Linked DNA regions of Homo sapiens: regions 1, 3 and 4 are each linked to region 2. The links are contacts of gene promoters, found by promoter capture Hi-C in human tissues and cell types (Jung and others, 2019). All regions are on one chromosome and are shown on one strand. Each heading gives the region's core, a stretch centred on a gene start or on the middle of the fragment in contact. The rest is flanking DNA. Distances are from core to core; before and after follow the strand shown. Region 1 overlaps POLN (DNA polymerase nu). Region 2 holds the start of RNF4 (ring finger protein 4). Region 3 overlaps POLN (DNA polymerase nu). Region 4 overlaps TNIP2 (TNFAIP3 interacting protein 2).

The links. Contacts are between HindIII fragments. The study calls those that stand out against the background at their distance.
Region 1: a contact is called between a fragment that was not itself captured here and the fragment with the promoter of RNF4 in region 2, in 2 of the 25 tissues and cell types used here (dorsolateral prefrontal cortex and mesendoderm cells).
Region 3: a contact is called between a fragment that was not itself captured here and the fragment with the promoter of RNF4 in region 2, in 3 of the 25 tissues and cell types used here (H1 embryonic stem cells, IMR-90 fibroblasts and aorta).
Region 4: a fragment that was not itself captured here is called in contact with the fragment with the promoter of RNF4 in region 2 in 1 of the 25 tissues and cell types used here (dorsolateral prefrontal cortex).

The regions. Positions count from the first base shown.
Region 1 is chr4:2,194,053-2,197,174 of GRCh38, forward strand. The region is part of intron 6 of POLN (DNA polymerase nu); the gene reads right to left. Among named protein-coding and RNA genes, the nearest start is that of HAUS3, 47 kb to the right of the region's middle. The HindIII fragment of the contact is 7,366 bases long and covers 1-3,122 here.
Region 2 is chr4:2,467,534-2,470,895 of GRCh38, forward strand. It overlaps RNF4 (ring finger protein 4), which reads left to right and starts at 1,573. Exons shown (of 8, transcript NM_002938.5): 1 at 1,573-1,725. It overlaps LOC107986250 (a long non-coding RNA gene), which reads right to left and starts at 1,418. Exons shown (of 2, transcript XR_001741551.3): 1 at 867-1,418. RefSeq lists a silencer at 1,116-1,285 and enhancers at 1,436-1,795, 1,479-2,051, 2,096-2,215. The HindIII fragment of the contact is 20,287 bases long and covers 1-3,362 here.
Region 3 is chr4:2,153,590-2,156,832 of GRCh38, forward strand. POLN (DNA polymerase nu) reads right to left here. Exons shown (of 26, transcript NM_181808.4): 16 at 3,199-3,243. Among named protein-coding and RNA genes, the nearest start is that of HAUS3, 87 kb to the right of the region's middle. The HindIII fragment of the contact is 6,445 bases long and covers 1-3,243 here.
Region 4 is chr4:2,743,130-2,746,193 of GRCh38, forward strand. It overlaps TNIP2 (TNFAIP3 interacting protein 2), which reads right to left. Exons shown (of 6, transcript NM_024309.4): 3 at 2,317-2,406; 4 at 1,568-1,816; 5 at 1,258-1,377. Among named protein-coding and RNA genes, the nearest start is that of TNIP2, 12 kb to the right of the region's middle. RefSeq lists enhancers at 1,713-2,213, 2,809-3,064. The HindIII fragment of the contact is 7,933 bases long and covers 1-3,064 here.

The DNA of each region.
Region 1 (3,122 bases), core at 123-2,622, 270 kb before region 2:
CATTGTGTGTGAAGTGATTGTTGCACTGAAACCTCATCACTATCCTATCTGGCATGCACTAGAACCATTTTACAGATGAGAAAACTTAGTCTTGAAGAGGTTAAGCAATTTGGCCAGGGTTAAATGACTAACAAATGGCAATGCTGGGATCTGAGACCATATCTTCCTGCTGCCAGGGTCCAAACTCTAAGCTACCAAAGCCATCAATCCCTCTTTATAGTAAATGTTCATTAACACATTAAGATTCTTTGGTTAGAGCTGAGGAAGAAAGAAATCAAGAGCCTAATGAGCTTTGCACACTTAGCCAAACTGCAGTTAGATTTTGCTTGGACTTGTTCCACAGAAAGACATTTGTAGGCCTTTTGCACTTTGTGTGATTTCACCTTGGTTTCCCTTGAAAAGGGCGACCAGGATGGTAGGGAGGGTAAAGCGCCAATAACACAGCTTCAGATCTTGGCTTGGCTGGACCGGTGAGGAGGGTGTCCAAGAGGGAGTAAAGAGCTTATGAAGGAGAAGAACTGGGGCCATGGAGATCACTTCCCTTTACTGCTCCTTCATCCTTGAAACTCAAGAGTTCTGTGATGAGGTAATCTACCAACTACACTATCTTCCGCTAATAAGAGATTATTTTTATCTTGATAAAACAAACAACAAAAAGAATACCTTGTAAGCTAAATGGCAATTAGCCAGGCGTGGTGGTGCATGCCTGTAGTCCTAAAGTCCTAGCTACTGGGGTGAGGTTGCTGAGGAGGGAGAATCACTTGAGCCTGGGAGGTTGAGGCTGCAATGAGTCATGATCACAACCACTGCACTCCAACCTGGGCGACAAAGAGAGACTCTGGCTCTTAAAATAAAACATGTATTTATGTATATGTATATACATGCACACATACATATATATATTTATATATATAAAAGCTAGATTTGAGGCTTCCTCCTCTGTAAAATGGAGTGAATAAGGTATAACAAACGTACAGAGAGAATGTGAAGGTGAAGGGAGAGTGTGTATGTGAAAGGCCTTGCACAGGTCATTTAATAAATGTTATTAAACATGTTTTTGTGCAAAAAAGTATGTGTGCTAATTTAAATGTGATTTATTTAAATTTATTTTGAATCTCAAAGATATAATCATAGGATTGGGATTATTATTTCCAATTTATGGTACTTGAGGCAATGTATTAATTTGATTGTCCTAGAACTTATAAAAATTAAGCCTCAACATTCATTCATTCAATGATAATATTGAATAAATATTGATTAAGCACTTGCTTTGTAGCATTGTTCTTAGATATTGGGGATACATTAATGAACACACTACTGAACACAAATGAAAGTCATGTGGTGGGGTTGGCAGTGGGGTACCATCTCATACAGGGTGGTCAAGGAAGGTCTGATAAGGTAATTCTGTTTTTTTTTTTTTAGCTTGGTAATTCTTTTTTTTTTTTTTTTAAGACAGGGCCTCACTCTGTCATCCAGGCTAGAGTGCAGTAGTGCAATCACAGCTCACTGCAGGCTCAAACTGCTGGACCCAAGCGATCCTCCAACATCAGCCTCTAGAGTAGCTGGAACTATAGGCACATGCCACTGTACCCGGGTAATTTTTAAATTTTTTGTAGAGATTGGGTCTCACTATGTTGCTCAGGCTAGTCTCAAACTCCAGCCTCAAGCCATCCTCCCACCTCAGCCTGAGCCACTGTTCCTAGCCAAGGTAACTCTTGAGGAAAGACATGAAGGATAAGGTAAACAAAAGCCTAGTTGGTAGAGGAAAGTTCTTTACAGGAAATTTTAGCCACTAAATGTGGAAGAAATGATAGAATTAGAAAAATCACCATCTTACTAGCCGGAATTAAATAAGTGATTTAGATGATCCTAATCAATGGACAAAACCATTAAGGGAAAGTTTGGGGGAGAAGTTTATAAGGAAGGGATCGTGTTGACACCACCTGAACCCACTGCTCCCTCTCAGCACCATGAAAACTGGGACAACCCAATTGCATCACTAAGGGAAGTCAGGAGGATACCAGTTAAGTCTGAATTTCAGAAAAATCATGAATAATTATCTGAAAAAAATCGAATATTTTTTAGGGATGTATTCTTCTAGTATAAGTATGTCCCATGCAATATTTGGGACATACGTATACTAAGAAATTAGTTATTTATCTGAAACTCAAATTTAGTGTCCTATATTTTAATTTGCTAAATCCGGCCATCCAACTGCATCACAGATGGAGTATGAAGCTTACAGCTCCACCTAGGAAGTGCTGCGCAAAACAAGCTGGACCCAAATAATCAAGCATTTAGAGCTAACTCCAGTTTACAGAAAATATGGAGAAGAGGAGACAGAACAAGTGAAAGAACTTCATGATGAGGCAAACAAATGAATCCAGGACACGGGACCTCCTCCAAGATAGGGAGAGGGGCTGAGGAACGCTCCAGATTAGAAAAAACTAGGGACATGGCCACCCAATGCTATGTCCTGATCCCAACAAGTCAACTGTAGAAGGACATTTTTGAGACAATCAGGTAGCTTCAAATTTGGACTGCGTACACAACTTGTTAAGTTTAAAAATGGCACTGTGGCTCTGGAAAAAAAAAAAAAAAGCCCATGGTTTTTAGAGTCATGAGAGGGCAAAACAATAGATTGGGAATTTCTTTAATCCCAGTCCTCTCCCCCTTCCCCAGGAAAGGGACAGAAGGAAGTAAGGAAAAACCTTTGATAATGTTGGCCTGGGTGGATGTATATACTACTCTGTACCTTTGTGTTTTCATAGTTTACTTTTTGTTTGTTCAGAGAAAAACATAAAGGAATGAGGCAGTAAACCATGCAGCTATTTGGGAGAATGCTGCAGGGAGGGATGGTGGCACCAGGCCCTTGGGTAGAGGCGCACACCACATGGTCAGGAACGGCAAGGAGGTGGGAATGCACTGAGAGGCCGGGAGAGAGGAGGAGGTGAGGTTGAAGACAGCGGAGGGGCCAGAGTAAGCAGACCTCGAGGGCGAGGGCCTTCATAGGTCCTGTGGCTTTTCTACACTTGATCTTAGCCAGAAGACCAAGAAGCAGTGATGTGGGGTTTTCCTCAGAGTGAAGCACGAGCTGTTTGAGGGTTTGGGACAGGGAAGTG
Region 2 (3,362 bases), core at 323-2,822:
CAGGCGTGGTGGCGGGCGCCTGTAGTCCCAGCTACTTGGGAGGCTGAGGCAGGAGAATGGCGTGAACCCGGGATGCGGAGCTTGCAGTGAGCCGAGATCGCGCCACTGCACTCCAGCCTGGGCGACAGAGCGAGACTCCGTCTCAAAACAAACAAACAAACAAACAAAAAACACAAATACTTAGATATTTTACATGAGAATTACATTTATCTATCAGATACTCTACCATGCCAGATTTCCTTACAATTACGAAAAATAGCAAACACATATTGTTTGTAAATGCAACACAAAAACGTTAATGCTCTGGTTTCTATCTGCCTTGTCATTCCGTTATTTGACTCCATTTTCGAGGTTAGAAACTCACTGTAAGGTGGCCGGGCGAGGTGGCTCACACCAGTAATCCCAGCACTTTTGGAGGCCAAGGAGGGTGGATCACCTGAGGTCAGGAGCTCGAGACCAGCCTGGCCAACATGATGGAACTCCATCTCTACTAAAAATACAAAGAAAATTAGCCGGGCGTGGTGGCAGGCGCCTGTAATCCCAGCTATTCGGGAGGCTGAGGCAGGAGAATCACGTGAACCCAGGAGGTTAGAGCTTGCAGTGAGCCGAGATCGCGCCACTAAAACAAACAAACTCACTGTAAGGAAACAATGTAACCCAAGGCATTTGGGGTGACCTTCACGTTGCCTGAGGGTGCCGAGGGACCAGAGATGCTGGCCATGGACTAAGGTCTGGGTATTCTCAGGCAGCAGGGACAAGGTGGGCTTTTTTCCTGGTTGCTAAACCCACGTCAAAGTCGAGCTCAGGGACTGGAGCTCAAGAAACCCACCGCCCATTCTCCAGTCCGACCGGGGACCTGCATGCACCTCTGCCGTGCTGCCCTGAGTCCTCCAATCCTCCACACTCTTCCTCTGTTATGTACACGTCTCCACCCAGGCCTGCAAAAGTCCCAGCTTCCTCGCAGGGGCAGGGACCCGCACGCCGGCCCAGGGCTTGGCACGCGGGGATGCTGAAACAGGGCCAGGCCTGGTTTCCAGCCGATCGTCAGAGTCCCAAGGCCCAGCAACCTTCCTCACAAAGGCCTCGTTAAGAGGCGAGGAAACAAGAGCCGGGAGAGGGGCGCGGAACGGCGGGCGGGACGAACGACCAGCTCCGCGCCTCCGGCCAGCTGCGTCGAGCCAGGGGCACCGCGGCTGTTGTGCGGCTGGAAATCTAGGAATGGGAAGGTTCGGGGCCTGCTCGGCTCCGGAGGCAGCTGGCGGGTCGTCCCTGGCGGCGTTGGAGCGGTCAGTGGCAGCCGGGCACGGGCGACCGGGTCGCCCGGGTCGCCCTCAGACCGTGACTCCCGAAAAACCTTGCGGGCGGGGCGCGCCCGCGCCGTCTCTTGCCGGAAGGTGCGAGTTAGTGCGCTCGATTGTGGGCGGGGGCGGAAAGAGGCGCGTTTTAAAGTGGTAACAGATGGTTTTCTTATCCAATAGGATTAAAAAATTTGTCCTTACCCGGCCGACCGCGGAAGTAGAGTAGGCGGGCGGCCAATGGGGACATGATGGGGGGCGGAGCCGAGGCCTCCGAAGCGGAAGTGGGTTGCTGTTGAGGCGGCGGCATCTTTCTCGAGGAGCTCTCCTGGGCGGCTGAAGAAGGAGCTTCTTCTCCGGAGTGCGCCGGCGGTGGCGCCTGCGGACCTAACTAGCTCCAGGTTAGGCCGAGCTTTGCGGGAAAGCAGCGGTAAGTCAGGGCCTTGCAGATGCGAGGTTTAGGCAGCTTCGCGGCCTACAGAGGCCTCGGCCCGCGCCTCTTGGGGGAGCCGCGCTGCGCGGCTTGACCCAGCCGAGGCTTTGCAGCCCGGGACCTCGAGCCAGCTCTGGTCGCTCGCACTGCCGTCCGCGCGGGCGCACCGAGCCCGGCTTGGCGCGGGCAACAGAAGTTAGGAGGTCTGCGTCTGGGTCTCGGCTCACCCTGGGGGGCCGCGGCCATGGGGCTTAGTTCCTAGCCTAGGAAGGGAAACTGAGACTCTGGGAGGGGCAGGAACGCCCCCAAGGTCACTTGGAAAGTCGGGCAGGATGTGCTGTTAGGGGGAAGACCCGGGCAGGGTTTTTGTTCCCCGCTGACGACGCCTCCTTTGTGTGTTCGCGCCGCCGCCCCGCCATCGTGGGGCCTGCGAGTTTGCCGGGGTGCGTGGGCCGCGTGGCGGGGCCTTTTGTAGGTCGGGAGGATCTGAGTACGGGTGCGGGCCTGACCGTGGGGGCGCCGAGGTCGCAGTCTAAAACTTAGTAGGGCCTCGATTTCCGGGCGCGCTTCCGGGCCCCGGCTGGTGGTTGGTGGAACGTGCGACTGTGAGGCTTGCGGCCCAGCCCTGCACCGCTCGGGCCCTTCACCGCTCTGGCGCGCCTATAGACAGGTGTATGAAGATTCTCACGACCCGAAACAGAGTTGCTAGTAAACACCGCTTTTCCGCCTTTGATCCATCGAGGGAAGAGGGAAAAGGATAGAGCTTGGGCAAGCCGTTTTGGTAGGGATTTCAGCTTTTGTCTTTCACTTGTCAGTTCCCATAGACGTTCACAAACTTAATAATCTTCGTTCTGTTTCTGCACCAAGTTCTTGAGCCAGACGTAGGGTCTCAGCTCTGGAGCCTGGCTTAGACTGTCCAACTGACTGGGGAGACTGAGGTCCAGAAAAGTGAAGTGGTCTGCCCAAGGTCACATAGCCAGCTATTTGGCAGCAGATGAGGTTAAGTCCTACCTGCAAGATTTGGGTTTTGAATTCATTGACCAGGAGTTTTGGGACCACTGTCAATAAAAGAGACATTGAAGGGAATCTTTTGTTACTTTCTTGGTGATTTGCTTTTTAATGGACAAGGACATATTGGGTTCAGTTTTATCTGTGAGTTTGAGGTGAAATAGAGGCATTCGAGTAGCAAGATATATTGCTGGCTTTTGTATTGCCTGAATTTGAGCTTCCAAAAATCTTACTTTAACACATCGTTTATTGATCTTTTCTTGAATTACTACCTTTGTAAGGACCTTTTGTAAACATTGTTTTTCTAATCTTCATGAAATCTTAATGCCATACGTAAACTATTTCTTTTTATATAATGTATGCACATCTGTGCTTTGTACATAAAATGAGTAAGATTTTTCACTCTCCTCAAGATCAAAGTAGCGTATTTTTGAGGTCTCCTGTATGCCAACCTTTCTGCTTGGAATACAGCAGTAAACAGTCGTGGTCCTCCTGTAGCTGGGTGAGGATGGAGGGAATAAGAGATAACTCATTTTATTGTGTTTTGCAAATACTGCCTTTTTTTTTTTGCAAGGTGAAGGTTTATAGCAAGGATTCATCGAGCAAGTCTGTAAATGCCAGCCATT
Region 3 (3,243 bases), core at 578-3,077, 310 kb before region 2:
TTTTTTTTTTTTGAGATGGAGTCTCGCTCTGTCACCCAGGCTGGAGTGCAGTGGCGCCATCTCAGCTCACTGCAAGCTCTGCTCCCAGCTTCACACCATTCTCCTGCCTCAGCCTCCCAAGTAGCTGGGACCACAGGCGCCCACTACCACGCCCGGCTAATTTTTTTTGCATGTTTAGCAGAGACGGGGTTTCACTGTGTAAGCCAGAATGTTCTCGATCTCCTGACCTTGTGATCCACCCACCTCAGCCTCCCAGAGTGCTGGGATTACAGGTGTGAGCCACTGCACCCGGCTGTTATTTGTATAATTTTAAAAAGCCATTTTAAGGCCAGGCGCGGTGGCTCATACCTGCAATCCCAGCACTTTGGGAGGCCGAGGCGGGCGGATCACAAGGTCAGGAGATTGAGACCATCCTGGCTAACATGGTGAAACCCTATCTCTACTAAGAATACAAAAAAATTAGCCGGGCGTGGTGGCGGGTGCCTGTAGTCCTAGCTACTCGGGAGGCTGAGGCAGGAGAATGGCATGAACCAGTGAGGCAGAGCTTGCAGTGAGCTGAGATCACGCCACTGCACTCCAGCCTGGGCGACAGCGAGACTCCATCTCAACAAAAAAAAAAAAAAAAAAAAAAAAAAGACATTTTAAGTATGGCAAACCAGAATATATATCTTAAAAGTTAAAAGGCAAAAGAAAATTGGAGGAAAATAATTCAACATTTCATAAAGGGTTAATTTTTATTATATAAAGAGCTTTTCCATACCAATAGGAAAAAATAAACACCCTCCAGAGAAATGGGCAAATGACATGAACAGGCAATTCAAAGAAGAATAATTGTTTCATGTAGTCAACCTCAACAAATATTTAAAGAAATGGAAATTGAAAAAATGAGTCAGGAAAGTAATCAAAACGAAAATTCCTTGTGTTGGCAAGGATTAAGGGACCAAGCATTTCACATACTATGTGGTGGGAATGTTATTTTTGGCGAGAGGCTAATTTGGCAACATAAAGCCTTAAAAATACATATATACTGTGACTCAGAAATTCTATCTCTAGGAAATTGCACTATAGAAATCAACAGAAAAAAGTACCAAAAATGTTCATGGTATTGGTTATGGTATTGCTATTGAAGTTTGTATGGTATTGCTATGATAAAGTACAGGTATGTTTATGGTATTTCTATAAAATAATTAAAACTGCAAACAATCTAAATGACCATCAATAGGGGCAGCCATTAAATGGAATACAATGCAGCTGTTAAAAAGATGACACAAACTTCCAGTTAAAGGTCATGGCTGAATGCACATGTTATGTTTACATCTCATCTTTCCAAAAGTTCAACTGAAATAACAGAAAAATAAATAGGTAAAATTAGAGCTTCACTGAGAACCTGGGAGGAGTGCTACTCACAAACCAGACCCTTCAGAAACTTCTGGAAGAGAATAAAACACAGCAAGAGATTTACTGAAAATGTAATGGAAAAAGAAACTTATAACTGCATAAAAACAAAAGCAAGGACCTCCACGAAAAGTTTCTCAGCAGAATTCCTAAATAACTCTTAGATAAGAAGTATCAACTAAGAGAAACTACAGCAGTTGTGGTTGGTTGAGAAATTAGCCCAAGGGTAACGTGGCAGCAGTGCCTGCATTCAGAGGAGATGGCACTGGTATTCACATGGATATTGGTGCTGGTATTGGTATTCACATTACTATTGCTATTACTACCACTCTTCGCTAGATAAAGACCCCAGAAGAGCTCCCTAAAGTGCAAGGCCAGAGACAGCTGGCAGCCCGAGAGCTGACTGACCAAGAGTGGGTGTCCATGCACCCAAGAGGCCACACGATTAGCGCAAACTCACCCCATCCCAGCCTCTCTTCCTCTTCCTCACACAGTCACCTGAGTGTGTCCCTCTGCCTGCATGCACTCGGTACACCATCTATGCAAATGCCTGGGTGAAGGCCTGACCCTTAATGGAGGGAACCCACGGGACAGACACATGTTACGGAGGGAAGGGAAAGATGACTAACATTTGCTCATTCTGTAAACCTCCACATACTTGTATTTCTTTACCATGAATACATATTCATATTTATATATATATGTTAGTGTGTACTTAAATAATTCACATATTTAATTCATATATTTAAATTTAAATATAGATTCAAATCAATATTAATGTAGAATGATATCAAGAGATGTTAAAATAAGAAAGCATAATATAAAATAGCATGGCTTTATTTTTGTAGAAAAAAATTGTATTTTTTTTTTGACAGAGTCTCGCTCTGTCACCCAGGCTGGAGTGCAGTGGCGTTATCTCGGCTCACTGCAAGCTCCGCCTCCTGGGTTCACACCATTTTCCTGCCTCAGCCTCCCTAGTACCTGAGACTACAGGCACCCGCCACCACGCCCAGCTAATTTTTGTGTTTTTAGTAGAGACGGGGTTTCACCATATTGGCCAGGCTGGTCTTGAACTCCTGACCTCATGATCCACCGCCTCGGCCTCCCAAAGTGCTGGGATTACAGGCATGAGCCACCGCGCCTGGCCTAAAAAATTGTATTTTATAAATATATGTGCTTAGCAAAAAGTGTGGAAAGATAGATACCACAGTTCTGCACAGTGGATAACAAGTGACTTATTACTATTTTTATTTCTTTTCTGTATCTAAGGAATTTTCTATAATGAGAAATTAATCATGAGTCTTTTTTAGTTCAAAATACAGAGCCATTTAGAAAGTTAAGTGCTTTAAGTGTGATGCAAGCTGCATCATAAGTTCAAGGGAATTTAGAGCTTTTTTTTTTTTTTTCTTCATCAGAGATACAGCTTCAACAACCACCAAAAAATGGAGCTGTTCATCATAGCATCAGATACTTCAACACATTTCTGGAAATCAGAAGCCACCTGTCTGGCACAAATCTGAAAAGGAAGATGGGGTACGGGTGTCCTTTTTGCCTGCACACTGGAGTGCATGGGTTTCTGGGTGTGAAGCCCCCCTCTTGCTAACTCAGCACTTCATGAGAAGAGAACCCATCTGTCTTGTTCTCCTGCTATGTTCTCAGAATAAACAGAATAAAACACAACATATCAGTATGAAGTCCCCTCTTGGAAACAGAAAGTGCACAGGCAAACACATATGGAGAAAAAACTTCAATAGCAAGGCAGGAAAATGGCGTTTAACAAAGACAGTTGTTTAAACAACTTACAGGATGCTTGGCTGAAAGTCTTCCAGTCACAGTTCCAGTCTGATT
Region 4 (3,064 bases), core at 335-2,834, 280 kb after region 2:
TGAATGTGGACTTTCCCCAGTGGGACTACAGCTTATCACCCATGCCTTCAGCACCACTGTCCCTGGCTGTGCCATCTAGGGACTGAGCAACCCTCGAGGGGCCACAGGCTACTGTTGAAAGGGAACCAGAGGCCACTTAGTACAAGGTCTGCAGGCCCCACCAGGAACTTTACCCCCGGGGGTAAGAATCTGGGCCTGCAAGTCTGGAACCAGTTCATCTGGTCCAAAATCTTCAAGAGGCGGCCTGAGACCATCCTCACGATTGTACCAATAGTGCTCCTTCAATCCAAATCACATGCTTCCTTGAATTCATGAAGGCCAGAAAAACCTGTCCAGCCCTCTGCTGCAGACTTAGTCCCAGGGTTAGTCCCATAGTCCACCATGACTCTCCCGTGCCCTTCATGCGGAGGAGAAGCAGAAACCACTGAGGCCCAGTGGCTGCTCGGAACAGGGCAGTGGGGGGTGGCCTCACAGCCCCAGGGTCCCTGTTCACACCCTGAAACACGGCTGACGTCCTAGCTCCAGCCCGGGACGCATCGATTCTCAAGAGGCATCACTACTGTTCAGTCTGTGCCAGGAGAGGAAGCTCTTTGAGTGGGGCCCAGGCTATTCCCAGGGCCAAAAGTGTGTTAGGTACTTGATGAGGAGCTACATAAACTTCTCCTGGATTTTTGCAGAGCACAAGTCAGTGAGGAGAAGGAAGAGGCCATGGGTCACACACTGAGGAACTTCATCGGTTCCCATTCATGCCAGGCCTCCCTCAAGGCACCCCATGGTAGGAAAAGCACTGAGCCCAGGGGTGGGGTGAGGGGCCCCTGCCCTGCAAGGCCCAGCTCCACGTGCCAGGCTGAGCTGGGGATGTTACTGGACACCCAGGGCCATCACATCTACATGACAAGGTAAGCGGGGTTCCCGTCTCACAGACAGGTCAGGACACGTAGGGAGCTCACACTTTGAGGCCCGAGATATGCTCTCTGACTGCATGACAGTGACGGACGGGCCCTGAGGACAGCCACCTCTGCTAAGACAGGCCGCCATGCCAGCCTCCTCCATAACTAAACAGTATAACAGGGAGGCTTTCCATGACCACGCCCAGGTACCAGGCCAGGTGGCTCTCCCCACAGCAGGGAGGGGCTCGCCACAACCCTCATCACCAGCAAATCAGGGCCTTGGCAGACACAGAAAGGCTCTAATCTCATGAGAAGAGAAACAAAAACACTAAACCTAAGCAGGAAGAAAAACGCCCTCATACTCTACCTGTCTCCAGGACACCTGGTGCAGCAAAGAGGCGACCTTTTCCTCCAGTTCTTGAATCCTACTTTGAGCCCGTTCCCGATCGGCCCTTTCTGACATGAAGTCATCCTTGTAAGCGAGAATCTGAAGAGAGGCGAGACACACATTTCTGCTCAAGGAAGGAGGAAGCGCCCCACCAGGCTTCTCCCACCCCCACAGTGACCACTGCCCACTCAGTGCCACCAAGCCTTCAGCCCAGCCTGTCCCATGATTTCGGCCACCACCGGCCAGCAGACATCTGGTCAGTGCCGTCCGGAGCCCGAGGGACAGACACCTGCTGTTCCAGCATCTGCACCCGCTCCAACGCAGCATCCCGGGCCGTCCTGGAGGCCGCCAGCTCCTGCTTCACTTCGGCACAGTCATTTATTTTCTCTTCCAACTGTCTGTTGAGCCGGGAGATCTCCTTCCTCATCAGCTCGGGCTCGTGGGGGATCTGCAGCCCCCTGAGCTGCGCATGGAGCCCCCTCACGTATTCGTCCCTGCTGGCGTTGTAGCGCTGCCACTTGGCATTGAGGTCTTCAACCTGAAGAGGTGGAGCCGGAAAGCTCACGGTGAAGGCAGCTGACAAAGCTGCTCAAGCCAGCACCCAGTGTGAATTATGTATTAGCAGTGATTCGCTGAGTGAGAGTTTCCTCTTAAATGGAAGCTGCCCCTCCCTGTTCTGTAGAGAGCAGACACTAGGCCCGCTAGAGAATCCTGAGGCAGCACGATGACACCCGTACGCAAGCAGCATGAACGGAGGTGGACTCGGTGCAGCTTTGCTGTCTTAGAAAATGGACCTCCTGCTGCTAACTCTTGCATCTCCTTTACTGACTTGTGGATTAATTTTAGGGGGATGGAGATGGACAGGACATGTCCCGTACGTCGTTTTAAGCAAAAAAGTCCAGTCTCTAGGGACTGTGTGTATCAAGTCCTAGTGGCCAGAGGGCGGGGGGCGACTCTGGGCATCAGCCAAGGAAAGAACCCTCACTTACAGTTTGTAAGCCATGTGTTCTTCTCAAACGAAATGTGAAAGACACTCACGTGAGTCACCTTCTGTTTTAACAGTCGATTTTCTTCCTGCAACTTCTCAATAACACTCTGGACAGAGGTGTGCCCATCTGTGTGTTCCGACTGCATGAGGAAGGGACAGAGAGAAGACACTCTGTCACATACAGCAAGAGGGGAGAAAGCTAGACCCAGAGGCTGAGGCCACAGATTATCACTGCGTCCCCCAGTGCAGCGGGTAGTGATCATTCATTTGGTAGAGAAGCAAAGCAGGGACAAGGGACCACCTTCTCCCTGCCCAGGCCCACCCCACCTGGCCCAGGCCAGAGCCCGGATGGGAGGTCTTCAGGCCACACCACCTTTCACACTGTCCTTATCCCGTCCCACCTACCAGTTTGAGCTGTTTGTCTTTTAAATATTTGGAATGTAAATATTCTAAAGCCATAATGTCTGCAGGGATTGGCACACCAGACATGATAAAGTCTTCTCATTGCCAGAGATTTGCCATTATCACAGACAGCAGGGAAGGCAGGAAGCTGAATCCCATTGTAAACCAGAGGATCTCCAGTGAGGGGGCCCCCAGCTGCCCAGGGTGGGCCTGGCCATGCACCCTGCTTACCTCCTTTGGAGCCCATGACACTGTCCTGTCTGCAGACAATCGGGTTCAACCAGGTGATTCTGGACACAGGAATCTAACCTCTGCCCCACGCAGGGTCAGGAGTCACCGAAGCCACAACCCAAACCAACCCCCACTAACAACTACAGAGCTGAATGAAAAGTCTCC